Linked DNA regions of Homo sapiens: region 2 is linked to region 1. The links are contacts of gene promoters, found by promoter capture Hi-C in blood cells and fetal thymus (Javierre and others, 2016). All regions are on one chromosome and are shown on one strand. Each heading gives the region's core, a stretch centred on a gene start or on the middle of the fragment in contact. The rest is flanking DNA. Distances are from core to core; before and after follow the strand shown. Region 1 holds the start of FHL5 (four and a half LIM domains 5). Region 2 overlaps KLHL32 (kelch like family member 32).

The links. The method cuts DNA at HindIII sites, captures the fragments that hold promoters and counts their contacts. A CHiCAGO score of 5 or more calls a contact.
Region 2: a contact is called between a fragment that was not itself captured here and the fragment with the promoter of FHL5 in region 1, in 3 of 17 cell types (total B cells, activated CD4 T cells and naive CD8 T cells). The highest score is 7.6, in total B cells.

What each region holds. Positions count from the first base shown.
Region 1 is chr6:96,560,363-96,565,158 of GRCh38, forward strand. It overlaps FHL5 (four and a half LIM domains 5), which reads left to right and starts at 2,766. Exons shown (of 6, transcript NM_001322466.2): 1 at 2,766-2,993. The HindIII fragment of the contact is 3,763 bases long and covers 1,417-4,796 here.
Region 2 is chr6:97,056,412-97,061,207 of GRCh38, forward strand. All of the region lies in intron 4 of KLHL32 (kelch like family member 32), which reads left to right. Among named protein-coding and RNA genes, the nearest start is that of KLHL32, 130 kb to the left of the region's middle. The HindIII fragment of the contact is 921 bases long and covers 1,834-2,754 here.

The DNA of each region.
Region 1 (4,796 bases), core at 1,516-4,015:
GGGGTTCAGGATGCACTACGCTAAAATATGGCACCTTGGTGTTTGAGAAAACTCCAGAAGCAGGAAGATCATTCCCACCTTCCCTTTACCCTTCTCTCCCGAGGCAGGTCATAAGACCCTCATTCAAGAGACCTCCCTATGCCTGGAAGAAAGGAACACAAAGAAGAGTCTAAACAAACAGGCCTTGCTAAGTTCCCCCGAGTGTATAATCATTAGACTATATCCCCTTTGTCCAGTCATACTTTTCCATGACTATCCACTCTTCATCAAATCTAAGCATAAAAATACACACGTTTATCTCTTGCTTTGAGTCTTCATTTCTGAAAGGCTCCCATGTCCCATAAAAACTTACATTAAATAATTTGTATACTTTTATTAATTTGCCTTTTTTTATAGGGGCCTCAACCATAAACCTAGTAATGGAAAAGAAAAATATCTCGCACTTTCTACAAGTATATACAATGTGGTCTTGGTTTTCTAACTAAATATACTGCATAACTATGTTATGCAATATATTTACAAAAAATTTTAGCATTTCTCTGTATCATTAATATATGAATGATACAAAGCCTAAAGAGGTACACAAAGATTTGGTCTGGGCTGTCTTGGATTGCAAATCATTTTACATTTTACATTTTCTGTATATGTTTTCCAGTTTCTGTTCCAGATTATCTGCAAGAAGCATGTATTTTATAATTTAACAAACTTATTTAAAAATAATATTTTTCTATAGAGAAGGATAGAAAGGGATCAGGCTGAGGCAGATGCCAGTTATTTTATGGCTGACAGAATAATCTGAGTGAGACATGTGAGACATGGAATGCAGGGGTGAGGACAAATTTGAGAAAGATCATTTAACAAACTAGAACCTACAGAAGGTGGACAATGATGGGGATGGTGGAGGATAAATGAGGAAAGGGAATACTCTAACATAAGGGGTGGATGATTGTGCCATTCCCTGAAGTAGGAAATACAGCAAACTAACAAGTTTGGAATGGGGAGAAGACAATAAGGATATTTGGGACTGTTGAGTTTGAGATGGCTGGGGACCCCTAGACAAGGTTTTCTAATAGATAGCGGGATACAGGTCTGGAACCTTGAAGAGTGGTATCAGATGAAAGTACACATTTGGGAGTCATGTTGTATAAAATTGTTCATTGTTTTGATGAAGAACGTGATGGAAAGTCTGCAGAGAAGCATACTGAACAGAAGATAAAGCTCTAGGGAAGAGTGAGGTGAATAGAGAGAAAGTGAGGGTGCTAAGAGCAAACAGAAAATCAGAAGGGTGTAACATAGCAAAACCAAGGGAAGATAATTTCAGAAAGAAATAGACATGGCCAGAGATGAGAATTTTTCGGTAAGACTGAAGACCATACTCTTTGGGTTGCTAATCAAGGTTGTATATGATCTTAATGAAGCTTTTTTGGAGCGGTTCAAGTGAAAGACAGATTGCAATAAGTTGGGAGGGAGAAGAAGGCTCAGAATGTAGTAGGTTTGGAATGACTTGGTGGATGTAGATTACCCTCTCAGGAAGCATGGGAGCAAATAAAGAGGGTGATGGTCCCAGGCACTTTTACATCTCAAGGACTGCTTTCCTTGCCCATAAAACAAGGAAAATACAGGCAGTACCTGTTTAGCAATGGTGTCCTAAGGATTAAAATCTATTACTAATGAAATATACTTGTGTCCTTTTGCTGAATCCAAATTTATTGTTGTTAGTCGCCATATGTTCATTTTCATAATGTCTTAATCATTAAAGTCAAGTGAATAACAAAACATACAGTTAACTGGCTCTGCATTTCTCTAGCTCAAGTTCTTTGACTGTATATACCCGAGTTTGACCTTAGAAGATATTAACATTTCATTCCTTTAGCAGTTAGAACAAGGACAGTTTAAGTTTGGTCTGGGATTAAGGCAGAATTTCTTCTCTCATCCTGCCTTCCAAACTGAAGAAATGGCCTCAAATGGAGATTCTAAGAGAAAATGTCACTTGCCTTATGAATCAGTGTGCCCCACTGAGGATACCTATTATGGATTGGTTTAATATCCAAAAATTTCTTCAGATCCAACTCTTGACATCTCTGTCCACTTTTTGTGTTTTGAAGATTTCAAAAGACTCAATGAGTTTATGCTTTATGAAGTCATAGAGCCATGGATGTGATGTCACAATTGTGGCCAGCTCACCAGGAAGCAGGCAGAGCGGGGAAGGCTGAGTCCACACTGCAAGTCCAGAGAGCAGGGAACTACCTTGAGTATTCTACTCAAACTTATGTCTCAGAGTTCCCCAATTTCCCAAGAAGGGAGAGATAGAGGCCACAATCCAGGGGGCCATCTCTTAAGGTACCAATAATTTTGCAGGTAAGAGCATGGGACCTCATCCCTTTCCAGATGGCCTCAAAAGGAGATTCTAAGAGACAATGTCCAAAAGAAAAGCTCAGCGGTTCAGACATTTCTAACCTAAAAGAAGGGTTCTGATCACCACCAGAAAACAAAGAAAACAAAGCCAAAAACAGATTGAGGAAACAGAAAATACATCATCCTTTTAGAGTATTATTTTTATAAATATGCCCTTAATTTAGCCTAGTTAGTGGAAATTTCTCAAGTGTGTATGCGTCTGTGTGAACATTGTGTATTTTAAACTTTTTGGAGCTTAGCCAGATACTTCGAATGCTAATCCTGGCAGAATTTCCCTTTAAGGATGTCCTGCAGAGAATTTGTTACTCATAGTTTTAAGTAAAAATTGACAAATAGTGCTTTTTCAGCCCAGTAGGAGTCATGTACACGGTATAAGACTTGGAGGAAATGCAGGGACCCTTCTGTTTTCTCCTGCAAAGTTGAAAAAGCTGCATGCAGTTGGAAGGGATCTTCAGATGGTGCTGGTGACTTTCTGTTCCTTTTGGAGTTGACATGCATGTGGATTGGAGGAAAAATAATCAACATATATTCTCCTTTCGTACTGTTTAAATCACAGGAAGAAGCGGCTTTAAGACAAAGTGAGTTCTTTCCCCCAAATATTTCCTTTGTTTTGTTTTGTGGTATTTTGACTTCTCTAATTTTTTTTTAAGGATGAGAAATTTTTATAAACTTTCCAGTAACTACTTAAGAGAAAACTTTTGCTTGGCAAAAGTGTATGCCTTTTGAAGTTTCTTAGCCATTTTAGCTAAAGGTTATCAAATTTTATATGCTGAGCTTTTCAGATTTCTCATTCTTATAACTTGCATGTGGAGGTAACATAGGGGCCAGATAACTCCTTGGAATTGCCTCTTGAGTTTTTCTAATGGTCTTAATGTGGGGTATAGCTTTATTGTTGTAAAAAGAGGAAGAAGAGGAGGGCTCTTGAGATTTTATTTGGCTTAATTTATTTGAATGAATAACATTATCACTGAGCATATTTTATGACTAGATTTATATTTCAAGAGCACATTTTGAAGTCACTTACAGGTTTTAAGTAAAAGGAGTTAATGAGATTCCTGCTATTTTCAAGAAAAATCTGCCTACTTTCCAGAAGTGGGCATACAAAAATTCATAATCTTTAATTTTCTAAGGTTAAATTAAAATATCTGTGTTTCCAGCCCACAGAAATATATAATAGACTATATCAATCTAAAGTGCTACTTCTTGAAACAGAGGTAGTGTTATTCAGGCAAAAAGCATACATCCCATATGTGTTAATGCTTTCTCTCTCACTATTTTAGTCATATCCTCTTTGGTACCTATCATTCATTTGAAAACCAAATGCAGCTCCTCAGCTGTCATTTCAGACTTTAGAAAATTGGAAACTAAAAAGAATTATTAACAAAATGCATAGCTCTCATACATAAAATGTAAGGAAATCCTTGAGCCATTTTAGCCCTCATTTTATATCCACAATACCATCATGTGTAAATACTAGCATTTTTATTAGCAAAGCATATGGATTAAAATTTAACATAGGTATTGCAAACATATGTATCATACAAGATATTTCTTAACATATGTGTTATGATATATGCTTTAAGCCATAATCCAAATTGCTTTAAGGGGAAGGTAAACTCTAGTGTCTGTTTTCTACACTTGTTCTATTTATTCTCACATTATTATTAGTTGCCAAATCTGGGACTGTTCTACCTAAGCAAGAGTAGTAGATTTGTGTTTTAATATAACACCACCTCACTGACAAATTTACCTCTTATTTTTATTACACTTACCAACATTTTGAGTAAAGCTGAATTAATCTGTGTTTCTTACATAAGACTGGGTACTTTTCTACTATAATATTACAAATAAGAGTTTAGAAAATTTAGAGATTTAGAGAATATTTAGAGACAGATATTTAATTTGTCTGTTTTTATTTTTTCAATCGAGGGAACATGATCTCTTTAGAAATGAAAGCTGAATACTTGGGTTCGCATGGGAAGCTCTGAATCAGATATTAGTTAAACCAGCTTGCATTTCCTTGTTCTTGTAATTATCTTTTTCCTCTCCAATTACCATAATTTTTCTTGGTTACTTTTTGGTACCCTGAAAGCTCATTGAAGGAGAGGAAGAGAAGAAAGAGGTAGAGGAAGAGGAGGAGAAGGAGGACTCCTTTTTGCCCAACATGCCTCAAATCCCTGCAAAATAATCAGCTTGAGGCCAGGCACGGTGGCTCACTTCTGTAATCCTAGCTTTGGGAGGCCAAGGTCGTGGGGATCACTTGAGCCCAGGGTTCAAGACCAGCTGGGGCAATATAGGGAGACTCTATTTAAAATAAAAATAAATAATCAGCTTATTGATGACATACCCTAGTATTTTATATGAACTAGTAAAACATTCTT
Region 2 (4,796 bases), core at 1,044-3,543, 500 kb after region 1:
CTGCCTATTCTCTCTTGGCCTTTGTAACACTGCTCACTGTGGGCTTTTATTCTGTGCCACCACCAGCCTTCCCGTCACTCCTTTCCAGGTGGCTTTGCTTGCTCCTCCCCACTCTGTAGGCTTCAAATCCTTCCTGCTTCAGAACCCTCCTGTTTAATCCAACTAGCTTCCTTGGTGATGTCATCCAGACCCAAGTTATTTGGTATTGACAAATAACTTGCTATTATCTTATGCTATTGACTCCCAGCCCCTACCTATACTCTAGACCAAGGATCAGCAAACTTTTTTTGTGAGGAGCCAAAAATAATTCAGTAAATAATTCAGGCCATATAAAGTTTCTGTCACAGCTGGGTGCAGTGGGTCACGACCATAGTCTCAGCACTTTGGGAGGCCAAAGCAGAAAGATCGTTTGAGCCCCGGAGCTCGACACCAGGCTGGGCAACATAGCAAGACCCTGTCTCTATTTTAAAAAGTAAATAAAGTTTATTTCGCAACTACTCAACTTAGCTGTTGTAGCATGAAAACTGCCAGAGACAAATATGTAAATGAATAAGCATAGCTATGTTATAATAAAACTCTATTTATACTTAAATTTGAATTTCATATAATTTTCATGTATCACAACATATTATTCATCTTTTGGGTTTGGGGGACTGTTTTAAAAAGTTAAAACTATTTTTAGAAATTAATACCCCAAAAATTAAACAGGCGTAAATCTAACAAAATATGTACAAAAAATGCAGTTTTCCTATGTGAGTATCTTTTTTTTTTTTTTTTTTTTTTTTTTTTTGAGACGGAGTTTCGCTCTGTCGCCCAGGCTGGAGTGCAGTGGCGCGATCTCGACTCACTGCAAGCTCCGCCTCCCGGGTTCACGCCATTCTCCTGCCTCAGCCTCCTGTGTAGCTGGGACTACAGGCACGCGCCACCATGCCCGGCTAATTTTTGTATTTTTAGTAGAGACGGGGTTTCACTGTGTTAGCCAGGATGGTCTCGATCTCCTGACCTCGTGATCCGCCCGTCTCGGCCTCCCAAAGTGCTGGGATTACAGGCGTGAGCCACCGCGCCCGGCCGAGTATCTTTTTATATGCTTATTTGCCACCTGTCTTCTTTGGTGAGGTATCCGCTCAGATCTTTTACACCCCCCTCCCGCCCCCATTTCAAAAAATCAGATGGTTCATTTTTTTCATTGTTGAGTGTTAAGATCTTGTTTTTTGATATTTTGGATAACATTCCTTTAGCAGATGTATCTGTTGCAAATATTTTCTCTTAGCCTATGGCTTGTCTTCTCAATTTCCTAATAGTGTATTTTGTGGAGCAGAAGTTTTTAATTTTAAAAAAGTCCAAGTTGTCAATTATGTCTTTCATGGACCATGTTTTTGGTGCTGTATCTAAAGAGTCATTGTCATACCCAAAGTTATCTAGATCTTCTCCTATGTTACCTTGTAAGAGTTTTCTAGTTTTGCATTTTACATCTACATCTGTAATCCGTTTTGAGTTTATTTTTGTGAAGGATTTGAGAGCTGTGTCCAGGTTCAATTTTTGTATGTGAGTGTCCAATTAATCTAGCCCCATTCTTGAAAAGACTATCTTTTATCCATTATTATTATATTATCTATAATATTATCTATGCTCTTTCATTGACCATATTTATGTGAGTCTGTTTCTGAGCTCTCTGTTCTGTTCCATTGATCTGTTTCTCTCTTCTTTTGCCAATGTCACACTGTCTTGATAACTGTAGTTTTTTTTAGTCTTGAAGCGGGTATTGTCAGTCCTCCAACTTTGTTCTCCTTCAACATCGTGTTGGCTATTTTGGGTCTTTTGCTTCTTCATATAAGCTTTAGAATCTGTTTGTTAATACACAAAAAATAACTGTGGGATTTTGAATAAGATTACATTGAATCTATAAATTGAGTTGGGAAGAACTGACATCTTGACAATATGGAGTCCTTTTTATCCACAGACATGGGCCATCTTTCCATTTATTTAGTTTTTCTTTGATTTCTCTCATCAGAGTTTTGTAGTTTTCCTCATATATATATGTGCTAAGTCCCATGGCTAATGCCCTGATTGCCTACCAATATTCATTTCCTCTTTTTTCTTTATATAGAACTCTAATTTGATTTGGGACTATGGTGCATCTAGCCATAAAAATTTAATTTCCCAGGCTCTTTTACAGCTATGTGTAGCCACCCAGCCAATGAGATGTAAATGGAAGTCTCTGTAACAGTGTTTGTAAGAAATCTATTGTTTTTCTGATAAACAATGCCAGACTCAGCTGGCAAATGTTTTTTGTTCTTTGACCTCTCCTTTCTTTCTGCTTTGAATGTAGACATAATGCCTGGTGGTATGGCAGCCAATTTGAGACCATGAAACCACAGCCTGAGATTTGCCAAGCAGGAAAATACAAGGAGGCTGGTTGCCACTCTAAGTGGCCTAATCCAAATGTTATTGGAAAAGTAACCCTTATATTTGTTTAAGCTGCTTTGTTACATATAGACACACACAATTGTAATGATACACAAGCATTCTTTTGGTCCTTAAAACAGTTTTTGAGGTAGACATCATTATTTTCACTGTACAAATAAGAACACTGAGGCACCTGGAGTTGAGCTGTTCTCCCAAGTTGATTCTGTCAGCAAGTGTAGGAGCCAGGATTTGAAAGCAGACAGCGTGACCTAGAACACATGGGCTTATTAGTTCACCAGATGTCTGTGGAGACCCAGGATGAGGTAGGGGTGGGGAGAGATCTTGCCAAGCTTTGTATAAGGAGTGGATTTAGAGTTGGATCTTGAAATGAGTAGGATTTTGACATATGGAAATTAAAGGAATGAGGAGGACATTGAAGATGGAGAACAAGGTATTGCCTGAGTGTGGAGACTAGTAGATTACTGGCTTTAGCAAAGGGACCAGAAGGTCATAAAACTGGAGAAAAGTTTTTAACAGCAGGTTGGGGCTACATGGTGAGGTTTTCCAAATACAAGCCTCAAAAGTTTGAATTCTCTGATTCATAGAGAACTACTGAATTCTAGCCAGTATTGCTCAGATGGAGCACTTCAACAGGCATATTTATGAACATTTCCCAATATGATCACAACATTTAGAAACTGGAATTCATGTGTTTTATTATCCTTACCTGAACTATGTTTTTCTTTCTTAAAAATAAACTTCAGATGTCAGATATAGATGTGCAGTGCATGAGTCAATTTAGAAAATTCTTTTCCTTTAAATGGCTGCCACCTTGTGGATAAAAAGTCCTTAGTGCAGTGGTTTTGAAACTAAAACTAGATTGGTAGAAATTTCTCATAGCTAGATAGATCTTGTGTTTCATGTTCCATCTGTGAGAATTCTGTCATAAATAACTTTATGCAAAACATTTTATGTGTGTTGAATATATGATCATTTAACAGCTATTTATGCTGTTGTATCCAGTTCATTTGATGATTATAAATTCAAGATTCTGATAATTTGCCATTCTGTAATACTATACAGGAAAAAAAAAATACCAAAGAAACAAACTATAAAGAAGGGAGGAAATGTAATCATTTATTCTCATAAATGGTATTAGACCACTCTAATTTGCAGTTGTACAAGCGCTTGTTTTGCTTGCAAAAGCGTGTTGTTCATGTGCACACATGGTATGTGTGTTTACTAAAGACCTTAGTTGTCTGATTTTAACATGCTCAAATCCTTCAGTCCACTGTACACATAGACCAAGAAGCAGGTAATTAAAAAATCTCCTTATGCAAGAAATGAAGAAGATAGCTTTGAAGATCTGAAGATACAAAATTTTCTGAAGATGCCAACTCACTTGATCACAGGCAGGAGAAAAAAAAAGGTCACACTGAGACTTACCATGGCTGTTAAAGACAGTCCCTACCAGCCACCAATCCAAGAGGCTAGGTATAAGGGAGAGGGAAAATAAAGAGAAAAAGAAGACAGAATTGAGAGAGTGGACATCTGATGATCCAGGAGGATGAGCTGAAGAAGGAGGGGCAGGGATGCCCTGGGGACTGTGGGGTGTCCCTACTCCCACCGCTCAGTCCCAGCTCCACCCTCCCAGAGCCCCCATGTGAGGTGTGGGCACTGACTGAGGTGGCCCACGTCATCATGCTCTATACAGAATCTCACCTCAGGTCCCATTCTCCTCCTCTTTCACCGGATTCTGGCCCCATATTCTGCCTGGAGACCAGGAGTCCCAGTCTTATTGCAGTTTAGAGGGTCTTCATTGGAGATCATGCAAATTCTCCTGTCTGCTACCAACCCTGCTTGGATTGGTGACCAGAGGACATGTTGGCACACAGTATTCAAGAGTGCCTCCTACCAGGAGGGTGATTGGGCCACCTCATGACTGAATTCTGACATAATTTCTCCTACCAGGTACCCATCCCCTTCTCCTGCACTTGTGGGTTTTACACTATTACTTTGTCACACCATTCTGTGTCACCCTAAATACAGCCACTGGTCGGTTCTTATCCCCACCAAAATGAGTGTAGAGTTTCAGCATTTGGAATGGGAATCAGTCGTGGCCCTCTCCTTATTCATATGACCTTGCCTGCTACAAATTGCAGGAGATGTTCCTGGGCCAGACCCAAGTAATGAGATGTGATCATCTCATTACTTGGTGAGGTGAGACTAGAGGTGACCTCTCTGCTAGCACTGTCCAACATCCCTCATTCGAGAACAGCCCCTTGTGTTCCACCACCTGGAGGTCAGGCGGGGAAAGAATCCTCTATACAGGTGGTTCTGTGAACAAGAAACATTCATGCCCCCACCTAAGTTTGCTCCTGGTTGCATCA